2 separate regions of the Homo sapiens genome follow, and region 1 is linked to region 2. The links are contacts of gene promoters, found by promoter capture Hi-C in human tissues and cell types (Jung and others, 2019). All regions are on one chromosome and are shown on one strand. The core of a region is centred on a gene start or on the middle of the fragment in contact, and the rest is flanking DNA. Distances in the headings are between cores, read along the strand shown. Region 1 overlaps PRKCZ (protein kinase C zeta). Region 2 holds the start of GABRD (gamma-aminobutyric acid type A receptor subunit delta).

Region 1 (3,796 bases), core at 379-2,878, 61 kb after region 2:
TATGAAATTCTGTATTGGAAAGAATTTTCCCTCTGCATTTCGAAGGGATCGCTCTACTGTCTTCTGGCTTCTTGTGTGACCGAGAAGTCAGGTGCCATTTTGATTTTGTGTGTTTTTCTCCTGAAAGTCTTGTAGAATCTTTTGTCTTCAGGGTTCTCAAGTTTCATGATAATGTTCCTTGTCGTGGAAACTTCTTTGTCTCTTGTGCTGGGAACTCGTGCTGTGGAACCTTGCGACATTTGGATGTGAGGAGCTTTACACCCAGTTATTTATCACATGGCCGACTCCCCGTCTCTGACTCTCTTTTAGAGTTAACGCTGATTATTTGTTGGCCCTCCCAGGCTGGTCCTTTAATTTTCTTCTCTATTTTCCATTTCTTTGTTTATGTTATATGCTAGGAGACATCTTCAGGTTTCTCTGTCCAAACCATCTGTTAAGTTTGTTAGTTTGTTGCCTTGTTCCCGTTCTTGTCTTTCGATCTTTTTTCTCTGAAGGTGGCTTTTTTTTTTTTTTTTGAGATGGAGTCTTGCTCTGTCGCCCAGGCTGGAGTGCAGTGGCGTGATTTCGGCTCACTGCAACCTCCACCTCCTGGGTTCAGGCCATTCTCCTGCCTCAGCCTCCTGAGTAGCTGGGACTACAGGCGCCCGCCACCACGCCCAGCTAATTTTTTGTAGTTTTAGTAGAGACGGGGTTTCACCGTGTTAGCCAGGATGGTCTCGATCTTCTGACCTTGTGATCCGCCCGCCTCGGCCTCCCAAAGTGCCGGGATTACAGGCGTGAGCCACTGCGCCCGGCCTGAAGGTGCCTTTTTAAGGCAGAGTGCCCTGCCCTTGTGTCAAAGGCATATCGCACTTTTTCTCTGGGGTTATTCGTCCCGGCTGAGAAGCACCGCGGTATCATGTGGTGATTGAGCAGCACCCAGCACATTCATGGCTGCGAGGCTTCCCGCGTGTGAACTCATTTAATCTTCTCAGTTCCTTGTGGGCACCATTGTTTTCTTTGTTCTGGGTAAAGATTAGCACTGAGGCACAGACAGGTCAAGAAATTTCCCAGAATCGCACAGTTTGAGCTGGGACTCAAACCCCAAGGGCTGGGCTTAAGCCCACGCTATTTGCCGCGTGCCCCAGGGCCTGAAGCTGCGTGGTCAGGCCCCAGCTCTGCTGCCCACCAGCCACGTGACCTCGGCCACAACGCTGTCCACCGTGTCCCGGACCCTCATAAGTGAGCGTGATGGTAAAAGGCTTGGCTCCCAAGGCTATCATGGGATTAGCCAGTAACTAAGCCACAACGCTGGCCCCGCGGCTGCTGCTGATGGCGGCACATGGTGGGAGCATGTGTGCTGGCAGCGGTTGGTGATAACGTCTCCTTTTGGTGTTTTCTTTGGCCTCGTACTCAGCTGTTTTCACCGAGAGTCCCTTTTTGTGTTTGTCCTGGCCTTTGCGGCTTCCTGGGCCCCTGGTGACCCGCATTTGTCTGCCCACATTGACTCGTGGGGCACCACAGAGCTGGTGGTGGCGGAAGTCCCCAGGGGAGTGTCCTGCCTGGGAGGGCCGGGCATCTCACCCCTAGTAAGGAGTCTGCTGCCCCCGCAAGCCCTCTCGTTCCCTGGCTGCTTTGGGTGAGGAAGGGGGTCTGGGGGTCGACTCCTCACTGACTGGGACCCTGCACAGCAGGTGCCCCACTTTCCTGCTACCTGGAGCCTCTGACTTGGGGCCCTTCTTTGGGGTTCGGCCCAGTACAGTCTCCTGGTGGCCACGGGGCCCTCTGCCTTCCAGGTCCCAGGGCATCCACTACCCGGCCTGTCCTCCTCTTTGCTGTTACGGGTTTTTTGGAGTTTTTCTTCCTTTGGTCTTGGGAGGGAGAGTCAGTCAGTGATGTGTTTGAGCTGCTGTGTCCACCTGGAAACCATCGTGATGACGCTTTCTGAAGGCTAAAGTATGCAGGAAAACCAGAGTTGGAGAAGGTCTTTAGGTAGGGGCAGTGCGCGTGGACGTGGCGGTGCGCGTGGACGTGGCAGGTGTGGACCAGCACGTCCCACTGCTCTGCATCCTGAGGGGCCGGAGGGTGTGGTGCAGGGTTTTAAGGAGGGCAAAGGCCCCTCTGTTTGTTTTTCCTTGATGCTGCCCCCCGTGCGACCTGGGGGCAGTTTTCAAATGCTTGACCCAGGTAGTTTAGTTCTGTCACCCCCTCGTTCAGTGGGGTGGTGGGAAGACCAGTTTTTGGAACAGTTTTGGATTTACAGAAAAATCAGGACAGGAGTAGAGCACAAGCATTCCCTCCCTGCTCCCTCCTGGTCAGCGTAATGCGTGAGTTACACTTCACCAGCCAGTCTCGGCACCTTTCCAGCTAAGGCTTTATTCCGCTTGCCTCAGTCTCCCCTCCTGCCCCCTTTCTGTCCCAGGATCCCGTCCAGGGCCCCACGTGGCACTTGGCCGTCACGTCTCCTTAGGTCCCTCTCACTGTGGCAGGTCTCTCAGACTTGCCTCATTTTCAACGACCTTCGTAGTTTTAAGGAGGGCTGGTCAGGTGTTTTGTGGGACAGCCCTTCGCTGGGGTTTGCCTCATGTTTTTCTCATAAGGACTGGGGCCTTGTGTTTTGGGAGGAGGTGAAGCCTCCTTATATCGCTGGGTCCAGGTCCACACCCTCCACGCAGCCTGTCCGTGCTGGCCTTGCGTGTCACCTGGCCGCGGTGTGTTTGTCGGCTCACACCTGCCCGTGCCTCTTCCCCCGTGCTGTCCTGTCTGCGGAGTGAGGCGTGCGTGGCCCACACCTAAGAGGTGAGGAGCTACATACGTGATGTCAAGTTTTGCACGGGACTTGTACGTCTGTTCTCCCATTGGTTATTTAATTATTCCTTTCTGTTCATGTGGACTCGCAGGTGTCAATTTCATACTTGGGTTAGAATCGGATACCGTGTCGCTTACTTATTGCTCAGATTGTTCCAGCTTTGGGCACTGGGGCCCCTGCAGGCTGGCTGTTGGGGCAGCGATGAGGCCAGACACTGGGTGGGTTGGGGGTGGGTGCTGACGGGTCTCTGGCAGGAGGGGGCAGGCTGCAGGGAGCAGGGGGAAGCAGGTCCCAGGCCCAGAGGTGGGTCTCGGGCGAGTCTGGGCTGTGGGCATGGACCCCCAGAAGGGGCCTGTGTGGCCAGGACGTCCCATGGCTGCAGACCCCGGTGTGGGGTGTGGGCCCTGGGAGGTGATTGGTACTGCAGCCGGAGCTCCAGCATCATGCCAAGGTGGTGCTGGGTCGAGGCGGGGAGGGGAGAAGTCACCACACTGTGCCCGGACTTGGTGGCGTGGTGATGTCGGGGCTGCGGTTGGGGGACTGACCCCGCATACTCTTCTCCCAGCTGAGTTGGCAGTGCCGTAGGGTCAGCAGCCCAGGCTCTGCATGGGGCTCGTGTGGGACTCGGCAGGTCCCTGCATCACCTGGCACCAAGCTCAGGCACGCCCCCCACACCCCACCACTGCCGCCCCGCCCCCCAGCATCCCCTTCCTGCTGCCCTCTGTGCTGCACTGACTTCCTCAGTTGGTTTGATGAGAGGTGACAAAGGCAGAAATGGGCAGAGAGCGGCACCATCGCTGGCCCCTCTTGCCCATTTGTCCCCTGCTGGGTGGGCAGTCCTCTTTTTTCGGAAATGTGTTCAGTTCTCTTGCATTGCATAATTTGTTCATATTAAAGCAGGCTTGATCCGGGCTGCCGTGGTTCCGATCGACTCCGAATAGGACACCACACAGTCGTGCCAAGAAGGCGCCTAAGTGTCTTTCCACACGGCCATCCGAGGGCGGACGT
Region 2 (3,867 bases), core at 87-2,586:
TGTTGGGCTTGTTAGAGCCCCGTTCCTTGATTTAAGAAAGCAGGCTAGGGCTGGGTGCAGTGGCTCACGCCTGTAATCCCAGCACTTTGGGAGGCCGAGGCGGGCGGATCACGGGGTCAGGAGTTCGAGACCAGCCTGGCCAACATGGTGAAATTCCGTCTGTACTAAAGATACAAAAAAATAACCGAGCGTGGTGGCAGGTGCCTGTAATCCCACCTACTCGGGAAGCTGTGGCAGGAGACTTGCTTGAACCTGGGAGGCAGAAGTTGCAGTGAGCCGAGATTGTGCTCCAGCCTGGGTAACAGAGCCAGATTCCATCTCGAAAAATAACATAACATAACATAACATAACATAACATAACATAACATAACATAACATAACATAAATAAAGCAAGCAAACTGGAACCAGCCTCATTCTTCCACTTCCCACAGTAGGGATTGGGCTGGAAATTCCGAAGCAAATCCCTCTCTGCACTTTCCTCCACCTGCCCCTGTGCGGCCAGGGCCCTTCATCCAGAAGCACGCAGCCTCGGGGACAGCTTCGCCATTTTTAAGTGTTTTCACGAGGGGTTGACACTGTGCTGTCAGCGACATCGCGAGCCCAGAAGTGAATAACTGACACAACAATGATTAAAGTTTGTGAGCAGCTTCAGGAAATGGCAGCGCAACTTTATGTTCAAAAGATCCAAGGCAGGAGAGTGTGAGGCCTTCCCTTTCCCAGATCCTAGGGGTGTGGAGGGCGGGCCTGGGGCCATGAGAGGTGTGGAGAGTCAGAACTGCGGCCTGCGGCGCAGCCCCCACCTGCTTTTCCTCTCCCCGCCCCCGTCGAGGGTCCCCAGGGATCAGGACTTGCTCCCAAAGTCGCCTGGCCCCAGCTCCCGCGAAGGCAGGAGGGTTTTGGAAGCAGCCGCTGGTGGGGGTCTCTCTCCTGACAGCTGCAGGGACTGGCCCCCTCCCCACCCACCGCCGGCGCAGCCAGAAGCAGCCACGCAGACGTGCGACCCCCCACAAACCGCCTCGGGACGAGGTTCTGCCGCGCCCGTGGGCCACAGTGTCCACGCGGGGCTTGTGCCGGTGTCGCCTCCCATGAAGACACCCGGAGGGTCCCGTCTGCGGCGCGTGAGGGCAGCGGTCCCGGAGAGCCAGACCCCGGCCAGGGAGAGCTGCCCGCGAGGGAGGGGGCGCGGCTGGCGGAGGGGGGCGGGATGGGGCGGGGGGCGGGGGGAGGAGAGGGGAGCGGCGGGCGGGGCCGGGCTGCAGGGAGCGGCGGGCTGGGGCGGGCTCGGGGCGGGCTCCGCGCTCCGTCCGCCCCCTCGCGCCCGCGCCGCGCTCGCTCAGCTCCCGCCCGCCTGTGCCGCCTGTGCGGCCGCCGGGAGCCAAGTTTGCGCGGACCCCGTCCCGAGCCCGCCGCGGCCATGGACGCGCCCGCCCGGCTGCTGGCCCCGCTCCTGCTCCTCTGCGCGCAGCAGCTCCGCGGCACCAGGTGAGCGGGCGGGGTCCGCGCGGCGCGGGGTCGGGGGCGGTGGGGGGCCCGCGTCGGCCCGAGATAGCGGCTGGGAGAGCGGCCGGCGCGAGCCCCGGGCCCCGGACCCCAAGTCTGAGAGCCCCGCGTCCTCCCTCCCCGGGGTCTTGCCCCGCGGGCCCCTCGTTGGACTCGCCCGGACGCTGCCCTTGGGCTCGGGACGCGGCGACCCCCGCGCTGGCCGCCCCCGCCCGGTGCTGTCCGCCGTCCTGGTGCTGAACCTGGGCTGGGCGAGGGCGTCGGAGCCTCCCGGTTCCCCTGCTCCGCGGCGCGCGTGGAGGGTCCCCGGGTCCGCGGCACTCGCGGGTCCCTGCCCGGCGGGTGCCTTGAGGAGAGGAAAGACCTGAGAACTCGGTGCGGGGAGGCTGCTCCCTTTGCGGGGGAGCCGTTCCCCGTTCCCCCAGTGAGCTTCCCCAGCCGGAGGGTCTGGGACGGACGGAGGAGGCTGTCTCGCTGTGGAGGGTGGGCCCGGCCTCCGGGGTCTCCTTTCAGAGTCCGTTTCAAATGGCGTGGGCAGAACTCCTGAGTGTGTGCAGGTGGACGGCGGCCAGGTGCCCCTGGCCACAGAAAAGAGATGGTGGATTTCTTAACTATTTTGGGAGGGACTCCCCAGAGAAGGAAGAGGCTGAGAAGGAGGCCCCCCGGGGCTGGAGCCCCCTCTGGCCTACAGTGCCCCCCCATCTCCTCTCTGGGGATCTGAAATGGGCTCCTCAGCCACCCAGGCAACTTGGCCCCACCACGGGGCCTGGCTGGCCGCCTTCCCTAGGAGTCACGAGAGGACATTTAGGGGCGTCTTTGAAAATCACCTCAGTGCAAAGACTGCAGAAGAAACAGCAAAGAGCCATCCCCCAGCATTCAGGATCTCAGAGACCGTGAAGATGTAGATATAGAGGTGGCTGACCGTAGTAGAGATGGCAGCACCCAACACGGGGCGGTGTGTCAGAGTTTTCCCATTGGAGGTGCGGGGGACAGAGCCCAGAAGGCCTGGGTCCAGCTGCAGCCGTGTGCCCATCAGGAGACCGCGGGGTCGGCACTGCCCCTGGCTCTAAGCAGCCCGTGTCCTGGGAAGAGCTTTGTTCTTCCATCAATCCCAGTGGGCCTTTCTCCCTTTGTCCTTCCCCTCCTTCAAGGTGAGAGGAAGGACGAAGCTCGGGGCACAGTTGTGGATGCTGTGCTGGAGCCATGGGGACAGCTGCCAGCCCAGGCCCACGGCCACTTAGCCAAGAGGCTGAAATCCAGACGGCTCTGAAACCCCAAAGTTTTAGCCCAAGTTCGACACCAGAATTCAGTTGGCAGCAAGTCCCGTCCCGCATGGACGTGAGACTCTTCTCATCTTTATTAATCCTACTTCTGGGATTATTTATATACACTTCCTGCTGGGAAATTCTTCAGGCCGCCCCCAGCCACAGCCTCTGTGTCCACCATTTCCCTGCTCTAAAATCTGAAGATCCTTAATCCTGGCCTGCATCTGGCTCCTGGGCTGACGGGGAAGGGATTCTGTGCCTGTTTCCTTGGGCAGGAAAGCTGGAAGGCCACGGCCCAGCCAGGAGTGGGGGGCCTCTGGGCCTGCAGTCACTCCCATCCCTGGAAGAGGGGTGCCGTTGGGGAGGACACCTTGCCTGGTGAGAGGTGCACTGCTTTGCTCAGCTCCCCTTTCGCTCTCTAGTTAAAAACAGTTACCACCTGGCTGCATGCTGCAGCCTCTCCTTTGAGGTCATCCTGTCCACACACATGTGCTGGGCTCAACCTCCTGCTCTTGGCGTCTAGGGGCAGGCCTGGAGGGTCTCCCCAGGGTGGAAGCACCTGCCAACTCAGCCCTAGGGGCCACCTTCAGACTTAGCGGGGTGCTGTCCATGAAGGGCCTCTCTGTATCTGTGCCCCTACACTCCAGAAACCAGGACAGCCGCCCTCCCTTCCCTCAGTCTCGGGGTCCTTGTCCTGGAGCTGTATTGGACGTCAGTGGGACCCATTCTGGCCATTACCCCAGGTCCCCATTGCAGCAGCTCCTCATGGGAAAGGCTGGGTGGGATAGGAAGGGAGTGTGCTGCGTGGCGGCCGTGGGTCGGCCCGGAGTGTGAAGACCCGTGCACGCGGCAGGCACCGAGCTTGCCGACTGCATGCCCGCGTGGGTGGCCCTCCCGGGCTGCCGGCACCTCCGTCTCCCTGGAGAAGCTGTGCTGCGGCTCCTACCGTGCCAGCTCGCGGTGCGCTGGTGGCGGTGCTCCTCTTCGCCTTGGTAACTGCAATGCTGGGAGGCTTGAGCTGCTCTAAAAGCAGGGCTGTGGGATATGTGGGCTGGGTGTGCGCCGTGGAGAAGCCTGCAGGGGGAGGATCCCAGCTACATC

Evidence for each region. Contacts are between HindIII fragments. The study calls those that stand out against the background at their distance.
Region 1: a fragment that was not itself captured here is called in contact with the fragment with the promoter of GABRD in region 2 in 1 of the 25 tissues and cell types used here (dorsolateral prefrontal cortex).

Annotation. Positions count from the first base shown.
Region 1 is chr1:2,078,346-2,082,141 of GRCh38, forward strand. The region is part of intron 4 of PRKCZ (protein kinase C zeta); the gene reads left to right. Among named protein-coding and RNA genes, the nearest start is that of PRKCZ, 30 kb to the left of the region's middle. The HindIII fragment of the contact is 6,733 bases long and covers 1-3,796 here.
Region 2 is chr1:2,018,009-2,021,875 of GRCh38, forward strand. GABRD (gamma-aminobutyric acid type A receptor subunit delta) reads left to right here and starts at 1,337. Exons shown (of 9, transcript NM_000815.5): 1 at 1,337-1,483. The coding sequence starts at 1,416. It overlaps LOC105378589 (a long non-coding RNA gene), which reads right to left and starts at 80. Exons shown (of 2, transcript XR_001737844.3): 1 at 1-80. RefSeq lists enhancers at 353-931, 932-1,509. The HindIII fragment of the contact is 31,331 bases long and covers 1-3,867 here.